Linked DNA regions of Homo sapiens: regions 1, 2 and 4 are each linked to region 3. The links are contacts of gene promoters, found by promoter capture Hi-C in blood cells and fetal thymus (Javierre and others, 2016). All regions are on one chromosome and are shown on one strand. The core of a region is centred on a gene start or on the middle of the fragment in contact, and the rest is flanking DNA. Distances in the headings are between cores, read along the strand shown.

Region 1 (2,700 bases), core at 187-2,686, 200 kb after region 3:
AGATCCTATTTTAAGGAATTATCTTTGCTTGTGTTCAGAATAAACTGAAAAAAAAAAAAAAAAGGTATGGCTTCAGAAAACAAATATGCTGCAATTTCAGAAATGATGCTAAGAGTAGATTCCAAAGGATTTTTAAAACTTATTTAACGTATGTCCAGGGATACACCATACTGGCTGAGTTCTGTTACACAGGTCATACCTGTACATTGCATAGAAAATTGATTGTCCATGAATAAAGCATTTTTTCCACTGTGGAGTGAAATGTGTTGTCACACCAATTGTTTCTATTAGTCATCTGTATTTGCAGTGGAAGAACTTAAAAGTGTTTTTGTTCCAAGGACCCCTGTGAAACAATGTGACACTCTCAGTGTTAGTTCCTTGAGTAATGGACCATATATGTGCAATGACAGCCAAGCAGAAAGAAAAAACATCTTGAAAAGCTCAAAAACAGATTCAGCTTTGAAAATAACTGGACTGAAATCTACACACATTTCTAGAATACTAACAGGCACATTCAAATAATCTATGATCAACTTTTTCCAGGTACTCCAATGCAGCAATCCCCAACCCTTTTGGCACCAGGGACTGGTTTCGTGGGAAGACAGTTATTCCATGGAGCCAGATGGTTTCAGGATGATTCAAGCGCATTACACGTATTGTGCAGTTTATTATTACATTGTAATATATGATGAAATAATTATACAACTCACCATGACATAAAATCAGTGGGAGTCTTGAGCTTGTTTTCCTACAACTGGATGGTCCCATCTGGGGGTGATGGGAGACAGTGACAGATCATCAGGCATCACTCTCATAATGAGCACACAACCTAGATCCCTTGCATGCGCAGTTCACAGTAGGGTTCCTGCTCCTATGAGAATCGAATGCCTCCACTGATCTGACAGGAGGCGGAGCTCAGGTGGTAATGCAAGCAATGGGGAGCAGCTATAAATACACATGAAGCTTTGCCCAACACTCACCTCCTGCTGTGCAACCCGGTACCAGTTGTCACCCATGGGCTGGGGACTCCTGCTCCAAAGGGTAACATTTTAACATTCAGCTTAAATAAATTTCACCAAAAATATCTCAACAATTCAAAGAGGAGTGTTCCTGACACCAGATCACTTTATTCAACAGAGCAGCTCCCAAAGTCATGAAGTACTACTTGGTTTAAAAATAAAGCTGTTTTTCCCACGTACACACATTCAACAAAACTATCTTTGGTATTACTTTACTGAGTGAGGTTTAAAGGAGTTTGGGAAAATATTACAGCCTTCTTCCTTTTCCCAATGCTAAAAGTTTTGTGTATTTTTTCCACATGCATTTCTTTGTTCATATATATTTTAAAAAGTCTAAACAATTAGGATATTGTATCTTTTGCTCTGTAATTTTTTTTCCTCATCAGCCTCTTCTCAGGCCAACATATACATATCTAACATTCTTTTTAGTGGTGAGAGAATATTCTATAATATTACATGTATGTACCATAATTTATTCAACCATTTACTTGCTAATTAACATTTAGATTTCCAGTTTTTTTTTTTTTTTTTTTTTCATTTTTATTTTTTGAGACAGACTTTTGCTCTGTCACCCAGGCTGGAGTGCAGTGGCATGATCTCGGCTCACTGCAACCTCCACCTCCTGGGTTCAAGTGGTTCTCCTGCCTCAGCCTCCTGAGTAGCTGGGACTACAGGCACACAACCCCATACTCCACTAATTTTTGTATTTTTAGTAGAGATGGGTTTCACCATGTTGGCCAGGCTGGCCACAAACTCCTGACCTCAAGTGACCTGTGCTTGCTTCAGCCTCCTAAAGTGCTGAGATTACAGGTGTGAGCCAACACATCTGGCCTCTAGAATATGTTTCAATAAACATCTGTGTCCTTACATTTTTATGCATGGAAGCTTTTATTTTTATAATTTCTCAGAAGGTTGTTCACTGAAAGTTATGTGTATTTGATTTTAATTCACACCCAGATAACTTTGCCAGCAATGTTTCTGCCAATTTCCTTGCATCTTCACCAAAATGGATATTGTCACTATTTAACCTTAAACCAATCTGATAAAAACTAGTATTACAGTAATACTTTTTAAAAAACAATCCATTAACCCTTATAATGAAGATGAACACACTTTATATTTGTTGACTTTTTCAATGTCCTGTTCTGTGAATTGCTTATTCACAGTGTGACCACTTCTCCAATAACTTAAACTTCTCTTTGTATACAGGGACACTGACATGTTTCCTATTACTATACAAATATTTCTTCTAGTCTACTTGTTGTTTTAACTTTGACTGTGGTCCCTGCCATATGACATTTAAATTTTTTATTAAGTAAAATATGTCTGTGTTTCCAATCTTGTTAAAAAGATCACTTCCACCCTAAGGTTGTATAGACTTTTCTTTGAATGTGTCTTTGTATTGTGTTTCCATTGTTGGGACCAATGTGAGAAATTTCTGCAATTCTTCTAAAAAATATTTTTTTTTTCAAAGAAGGGAGGGCAAGGGCAAAGAGCAAGAAAGGAGGATGGAGATGACTGGTCCATGGTTTTAGTTAAGAAAAATCCTAGATATCAGAAAATAAGATTTGTTAATGTTGTGAATCCTTATATGATCACAAAGCCACATTCTTAGGAAACACACAATTAAAAAATGTATTTTGATGTATCCACTCCATTAATGTGGATAATGAAATTTTAC
Region 2 (2,700 bases), core at 74-2,573, 250 kb after region 3:
ATAAATTCCTGGACACATACACCCTCCCAAGACTGAACCTGGAAGAAATGATTCCCTGACCAAACTAATAATGAGCTCTGAAATTCAATCAGTAATGAATAGCATACCAACCAAAAAAGGCATAGAACCAGATGGATTCGCAGCCAAATTCTACGAAATGTACAAAGAAAAGCTGGTACCATTCATACTAAAACTATACCAAAAAACTGAGGAGGTGGAACTCCTTCACACCTAATTCTATGAAGTCAACATTATCCTGATACCAAAACCTGGCAGAAGTAACAACAAAAAAAACAAAACTTCAAGCCAATATCCTTGATGAATGTCAACACAAAAATCCTCAACAAAATACTTGCAAACCAAACCCAGCAGCACATCAAAAAGCTAATTCACCATGATCAAGTAGGCTTCATTCCCAGGATGCAAGTTTGGTTCAACATATGCAAATCAACAAATGTGATGAATCACATAAACAGAACTAAAGACAAAAACCACATAATTATATCAATAGATGAAGAAAAGGCTTTTGATAAAATTCAACATCAATCCATGTAAAAACTCTCAATAAGCTAGGTATTGAAAGAACATACTTCAAAATAGTAAGAGCCATCTATGACAAACCCACAGCCAACATCATACTGAATGGGCAAAAGCAGGAAGCTTTCTCCTTGAAAACCAACACAAGACAAGGATGCTTTGTCTCACCACTCCTATTCAACCTAGTATTGAAAGTCCTGGCCAGAGCAAGCAGGAAAGAGGAAGAAATAAAAGGCATCCACATAGGAAGAGAGGAAGTAAAACTATGCCTGTTTGTAGATAACATGATTCTATATCTAGAAAACCCCATGTCTCAGCCCAAAAGCTCCTAGATCTGATAAACAACTTAGCAAAGTTTCAGGATACAAAAATCAGTGTACAAGAAATCACTAGCATTCCTATACACCAACAACAGCTAAGCTGAGAGCCAAATCAGGAAGGCAGCCCCATTCACAACTGCCACAAAAAGAATAAAATACCTAGGAATACAGCTAACCAGGAGGTGAAAGATCTCTACAATAATTACAAAACACTGTGCAAAGAAATCAGATAAGACACAAACAAATGGAAAAAACATCCCATGTTCATGGAGAAGAAGAATCAATATCATTAAACTGGCCATATTGCCCAAAGCAATTTACAGATTCAATGCTATTCCTAACAAACCACCACCAACATTCTTCACAGAACTAGAGAAACCTATTTTAAAATTAATATGGAACGTAAAAAGAGCCTGAATAGCAAGGCGATCCTAAGCAAAAAGAACAAAACTGGAATCACATTACCTGATTTCGATGTATGCTACAAAAACACAGTAACCAAAACAGAACAGTATTGGTACAAAAACAGGCACATTGACCACTGGAACAGAATAGAGAACTGGGAAGTAAGGTGACACGCCTCTGGCCATCTGATCTTTGACAAAGCTGACAAAAACAAGCAATCAAGAAAAGACTCCCTATTCTATAAATGGTGCTGGGATAACCGGCTAGCCAAATGCAGAAGATTGAAACTGAATGCCTTCCTTGCAACATACACAAAAATCAACTCAAGATGGATTAAAGACTTACATGTAAAACCAAAAGCTACAAAAATTTTAGCAAACAACCTAGGCAATACCACCCCGGACACAGGAACAGGCAAAGATTTTATGACAAGGACCCCAAAAGGAATTTCAACAAAAGCAAAAATTGACAAATAGGATCTAATTAAACTTAAGAGCTTCTGCAAAACAAAAGAAACTATCAACAGAGTAAACAGACAACCTACAGAAATGGGAGAAAATACTTTCTATGTACCTGATAAAGGTCTAATATCCAGCATCTATAACGAACTTCAACCAATTTAAAAAAGAAAAACAAACACCACCATTAAAAAGTGGGCAAAGGACATGAACAGACACTTTGCACAAGAAGACGTACGTGCCAATAAGCCTAAGAAAAAAGCTTAATATAACTGATCATTTGAGAAAAGCAAATCAAAAGCACAATGAGATACCATCTCACACCAGTCAGAATGGTTATCATTTAAAAATAACAGATTATTTATAAAAAATAACAGATGCTGGGAAGGTTGCAGAGAAAAGGGAACACTTACGCACTGTCAGTGGGAGTGTAAATTACTTCAATCATTGTGGAAAGCAGTATGGCGATTCCTCAAAGAGCTAAAAACAGAACTATCATTTGACCTAGCAAACCCATTACTGGGTATATACCTAGGGTAATATAAATCATTCTACCATAAAAAACACATGCACACAAGTGTTCGCTGCAGCATTATTCACAATAGCAAAGAAATGGAACCTAAACGCTCATCAGTGACAGACTGGATAAAGAAAATCTGGTACAGATACAAGAAATACTATGTAGCCATAAAAAAGAATGAGATCACATCTTTTGTGGGAACATGGATGGAGCTGGAGGTTACTATCCTTAGCAAACTAGCACAAGAACAGAAAACCAAACACTGTATGTTCTCACTTATAAGTGGGAACTAAATGTTGAGAACTCATGAACACAAAGAAGGGAACAACAGACAGTGGGGTCTACTTGAGGGGGAAGTGGGGAGGAGAAAGAGGATCACAAAAATAACTACTGGGGGCCAGGCATGGTGGCTCACAGCTAAAATCCCAGCACTTTGGGGGGCTGTGACAGGCGGACTGCT
Region 3 (2,700 bases), core at 7-2,506:
AGCTATGGGTATAAAATACTTGGCTATTCATCAACACTGAAAGCATTTTCTGAAAGGCAGCATAAGAAGCCACTTTATCAATACAGATATGAAAGTACATAGGAATTAATTGACAGAATTCCAGTTTGTAACGTTTAATATATAACTCAAATAATTCATGCATTAGGGCCTTTCCAGGTATAAGGTACTACCAGTGGAGAATCAAAGGTGCATAATGTCAAGATCCCTGCACTTGGAGGTTACAGAGGTCACCCACTGGTGAGAAACTAATGTAAAATCTCACTGCACAGCATCTATGTTGGTATGAATGGTTTGTTTTAATTTTTTGTACTTTAAAAAATGGGGCTATTTCACATAACAATTTTCCATTTTGCCGCTCCTGAAATACAGGCAACTTTCCCACTGGCCGGTCCACTTCGGAATTCTCTGCTCTCCAGTTCCTCAGATGTGCCCATCCTACTCCCATTTTCTTTCTCCATCATACGCCTGACCCCTGTGCGCATTTGAGCTTACAACCTCTGCCAAGACTCCAGTGGATTTCGAGAACAGATTGTGACTTGCTAAGCATACAAACTCCAACGGGGAAGGGCTCTTATCAGACGCCCTCTTTAAAGAAGGTCCTCTCACGAACTTAAAATCTTACGACAGAGGGAAACAAACACTGAACGACCGAATGACTTTTCAGGAGCTGACATCTCTGCGCTTCAGGGGGCGAATTCCAGCCCCCGCCCCTCGCGGCTTTTCAGTCCTTTAAAAGACTAGGCAAAGATCTAAGAGAGTTAATTGCAGGAAGAGTAACAATCGATGCCCACAGATAAGGGTCAGGGAGAACTTTCACCCAGTTTTGCAATCAGCAGCCCAGCCTGGCCTCTCCTCTCAGGCAGGACCTTGGGAAGCCCACACCGGGGTGCTGGGGAGAAGCGGGCTGTACCTGCTTGAGAGACCAGGTGTTTCCGGCTCTTTCCTCCTCAAGAGATGCGGTGCCTCAAGAATAACCATTCCCCTCCCCACCACCTCAGCGGGGTGACCTCAGCTGCGGCTGCGCGCGTATGCCGGCCCGAAAAGAGCAGCCAGCTGCGCCTCAGCAAGGGGCGCGGCCTCCAACCTTCGCATGCTCACCTGCCCCCGCGCCGGTGACCAGTACCACCCGCCCGTCGAACCTCAGCGGTGAGCCCATGAATAAGGCCTGCAACGACACACACACGAACAAGCAGAGCCGCTGGACGCCGACTGCGGGACAGGAGGAGGCGGGGAATGGCGGGGGCGGGACGAGGGTCAGTGACTTGCCGATTTCTGGTAGGAAGATGAGCGCAGAGCGCGCGGCTCCCTTGGAATCCTGGGAAATGTAGTTAAGAGTGACTCCACTCGCTGGAAGACTTGCCTTCCAGGGGCCATTTCTGCGGCTGGAAGCAATGGGAGCTGCTAGGACTTGTGTAGAAGAATAGTTAACTCGACACCTTGCGTTCATCTATTCACCTGTCGTTTCATCATTCACTCAATAAACGTTTTCTGGGTTTAGTTGCTGACCTAGAGAAACAGCATGCGGCCCCTATCCTTGAGGGGCTTCCAGAGATAGCCCCTGGGAAGGAAAGTCCCCCTTAGGGATGGTAAAGATTTGTCAGTGTAATAATCCCTGCACTTCTACATGCAAACATCAGGGGACTGTCAAAATGCAGAGTCCTGGACCCCCACTGCTTACCTCCCAAAATAGAATCTCAAGGGGCAAAAACATTTTGACAAGTGTTCCTAAATGATCTTGCGTTTGTATGTTGAGAACAGTCATAGTTCAATCAACATTTACTGAGCATCTCCTGAGTTTTGATAGGATCCTCAAGCTACTCAGAGTCAGATGGTAAACTTTCAATAACGGTGCAGCCTAGACTTGTGACCAATGTGTGTAAGTGAGCTAATGGTGTCAAAATAAACAGACCCTATCCCCGCTGGGGAGAAAGAGGAAAAACTTTCTGAAGGAGGACCAGGACCTAAAGTGGCGACCCCTGCAAAGAAAGAAGGGCATTACAGGCAGCACAAACACTAGCTAGGTTTGGGGAGAAAGAGGGTAAAGCCACAAAAGCAAAGCCAGCAAGATCATGTTTAGATGTTTGAATTTTGTGCTGAAAACGGTTTTAAGTAGGATTACTCCAGAGAGTGGTGGGAACACATTTACACTATGGAAAGATCACTTTGCCCATTATGGAGGATTGATTGGATGTTGCGGGAAGTCATGGACCCCAAACAGAGGGACCTGCTAGAGCCGCAGCAGAGGAACATAAATTGTGAAGATTTCACGGACATTTATCAGTTCCCAAATAATACTTTTATAATTTCTTATGCCTGTCTTTACTTTAATCTCTTAATCCTGTTATCTTCGTAAGCTGAAGGTGTACGTCACCTCAGGACCACTGTGATAATTGTGTTAACTGTACAAATTGATTGTAAAACATGTGTGTTTGAACAATATGAAATCAGTGCACCTTGAAAAAGAACAGAATAACAGCAATTTTTAGGGAACAAGGGAAGTCAACCATATGGGCTGACTGCCTGCGGGGTTGGGCAAAAACAGCCATATTTTTCTTCTTGCAGAGAGCCTATAAACGGACGTGCAAGTAGGGAAGATATCACTAAATTCTTTTCCTAGCAAGGAATATTAATATTAATACCCTGGTAAAGGAATGCATTCCTGGGGGGAGGTCTATAAAC
Region 4 (2,700 bases), core at 138-2,637, 230 kb after region 3:
CTGGCTGTGTTCCTATAAAACTTTATTTGTAAAAAAACACTGAAATCCAGTTTCATGTAATTTTCATGTGCCAAAAAATACTATGTTTGTTTTTTCAACTATTGAAAAAACAATGTATAAACCATTTCACTAAAATGTATACACCATTCTTAGCATATTAGCTATATAAAAACAGGTCATGGGTAATATTTGATCTATGGGGAACACCTTGCTGAAGCCTGATCTGAACCATGTTTCAAATAATTCTTAATTAAAATATAGCTCTTTGGTTTTCAAGCAAAGTATATTTTTAAAACAATTTATTATTACCCTTTCAAATGAAAACATACTAGTCTTCATTATCAAAATTTACAATTTCCAACATGTAAGACTTACTAAAACTTTAGGAATTAAGAAAAATGTTTTAAATCATCCTTTATCCATTAACCTAGAGGGAAAAATAAAAGTTACATATAACTTAAATTTATTTTTAACTTTACATACCACAGATGCTCCTCTGCCAGTCTGTGTACTACCAAGCCATGGCATGTTGATTGGAGTGCCAGGATTGCTATGTGTATATGGAGTTGTACCTTGAACAGCTGTTAAATCATCACGAGCATGTATAACCAAGAAATCTTCTGATCTATAAAGGAATGTCAACCAGAATAAAAACAACTCATCATTTCTTTCTTTTTTACACTTGAAAGGTCTAAAATTTGAATTTATAGTTCCCTTTAAAATTAATTTTCTTCAGCTCTTATTTGTAACTCACACACAATGACCTCATACCTCAACAATTTCTGTTCCCTTCACTTACTCTTCTCTCAGTTCCCTTATTTAAAGCTCTTGCCACCCCTCATTTAGCACATCAGCTTCTACTCTGCTTACAATCTATACATTGCTTTAAAGAATCTTTTGAAAGTTTTAGTTCAGTAAATATAGTCACTCATATTGCAACATTACTAAATAGAAACAAACTATGAAGGTACCCTTTGGTTTCCACTTCTATATCATCATCTACCCAAGTGTAGACCTGTGTGGCCAGAATTCCAGAAACATCCAGTTCTTGAACATCATGACTGGAAGCGATTGCTATGCAGTTTCTATTTGCCTGAAAAATAAGTCAAATGGTAATTTTAAAAGCAATAGGCAAAAGAGATAGTATATGAGCTGCTTTTGAAAATGGTAGTTTTGAAATAACCTCTAGCAGTGATAACTAAAGTACAGGATATACAGCATTCTTACTTTTAGTGAAATAATAAGCTTCAGTTTGGAGATACGTTTATGTTCTATGAAAAGTACATCCAATAGAAAGCCAGTATAAATGGCAATACATGCAGCATTTTATTTCCTCTCCCAGTACTGTTTTTCTAGACTGCTAGAATGCTATGATCGCTCTAAGGTATGCACAATTCAGAAATGTGGAGGAAGATGCTGAAAAAGATAGGAACCTGTAGGGTACAGAAAGGTGAGGGCAATAAGGAACTCCAAACTAAAAACATAATTATTAATTATTTAAATAAAACAAACTTTCTCCTAAAGCTTTTCAATCTTAGGCAAAAAAAAAAAAAAGAAGTGGGAAAGGGTCACAGAAAAAAGGTGTAGGGGCAGAAATATAGTGGGAGAAGTATGCCAGAAAAAGATCACAAATGAAAAGTTGCTAAGGTTAAATGACATGAAATTTTAAATGCCTATGAATCAAAAATGTACATCTTGGCTGGGGGCAGTGGCTCACGTCTATAATCCTAGCACTTTAGGAGGCTGAAGCAGGCAGACAGCTTGAGCTCAGGAGTTCGATAGTAGCCTGGGCAACATGGCAAAACACTGTCTCTACAAAAAATACAAAAATTAGTTGGGCATGGTGGCATGCACCTGCAGTCCCAGCTACTTGGGAGAATGAGGTGAAACGATTGCTTGAGCCCAGGAGGTCGAGGCTGCAGTGAGCTGACATTGCACCACAGCACTGGGCACCAGGCATGATACCCTGTCTCAATAAATAAATAAATAAATAAATTAATTAATTAATTAAATGTGTATCTTTGAAACAGAAAACAGGAAGATATTGACAGCAAAGAGAAAATAGGATTACCATTACTGTTATGTTAGATTTTAACACAAACTATTAAGAAAAAACTGAGACCTTAGAAATAAATGAAAAAATGATATAGCTAGATTATTGGGTGGTTATTCTCCATGGGTATCCCAAATTCTGCATGTTTTATAAGTGAGTCATGTCTGCCCTTTTTTCTGCAGTATAATTGCCAGGATGTTTGTATAACTATCGTCTCTCCCTCCAGAGCAAAGGGCAAGTATGCTTACTATCGATTATAAAAGATTTGGGTCCCCTAAACTCAGAGATCCTCTCCTGTAATATAACCTACTATGTGTGTAGGTAAGGTAGGTATCATCTGGCCCTCTTCCCGTCATTCTCTGGAAATTGTGGCTCAGGCAACCAGTGTAAAGTGCTGATTTTCTGGTTATTGCTTTTGCTGTTAGACATAAACTGTCCTTTGTCTCTGATCCAAGAGTCGTATGTCTTCTAACAGCATCCACTAAAATGTTTAATGGATCAATTAAATGGACTGTTTAAACAATCCACTGCCTGCCTCAAACAGAACTGTTTCTGTGGCAACAGAAACAGAAAGCTAACTGTTAGTTTTAATTTAAGGTAAAATCTGAGACCCTTCATAGTTTTTGACACAGGTAGTTCCCAACTAA

What was found. Contacts are between HindIII fragments. The CHiCAGO score rates a contact against its expected background, and 5 or more counts as called.
Region 1: a contact is called between a fragment that was not itself captured here and the fragment with the promoter of HSD17B4 in region 3, in 1 of 17 cell types (non-activated CD4 T cells). The highest score is 5.0, in non-activated CD4 T cells.
Region 2: a contact is called between a fragment that was not itself captured here and the fragment with the promoter of HSD17B4 in region 3, in 4 of 17 cell types (naive B cells, activated CD4 T cells, total B cells and 1 more). The highest score is 5.8, in naive B cells.
Region 4: a contact is called between a fragment that was not itself captured here and the fragment with the promoter of HSD17B4 in region 3, in 5 of 17 cell types (total B cells, naive B cells, total CD8 T cells and 2 more). The highest score is 14.2, in total B cells.

What each region holds. Positions count from the first base shown.
Region 1 is chr5:119,249,365-119,252,064 of GRCh38, reverse strand. No RefSeq gene overlaps it. Among named protein-coding and RNA genes, the nearest start is that of MIR5706, 96 kb to the right of the region's middle. The HindIII fragment of the contact is 941 bases long and covers 966-1,906 here.
Region 2 is chr5:119,199,123-119,201,822 of GRCh38, reverse strand. All of the region lies in intron 32 of DMXL1 (Dmx like 1), which reads right to left. Among named protein-coding and RNA genes, the nearest start is that of MIR5706, 46 kb to the right of the region's middle. The HindIII fragment of the contact is 1,322 bases long and covers 663-1,984 here.
Region 3 is chr5:119,451,053-119,453,752 of GRCh38, reverse strand. HSD17B4 (hydroxysteroid 17-beta dehydrogenase 4) reads right to left here and starts at 1,256. Exons shown (of 24, transcript NM_000414.4): 1 at 1,120-1,256. The coding sequence starts at 1,177. RefSeq lists an enhancer at 1,106-1,155. The HindIII fragment of the contact is 7,394 bases long and covers 1-2,700 here.
Region 4 is chr5:119,218,865-119,221,564 of GRCh38, reverse strand. DMXL1 (Dmx like 1) reads right to left here. Exons shown (of 44, transcript NM_001290321.3): 36 at 972-1,093; 37 at 484-625. Among named protein-coding and RNA genes, the nearest start is that of MIR5706, 66 kb to the right of the region's middle. The HindIII fragment of the contact is 279 bases long and covers 1,248-1,526 here.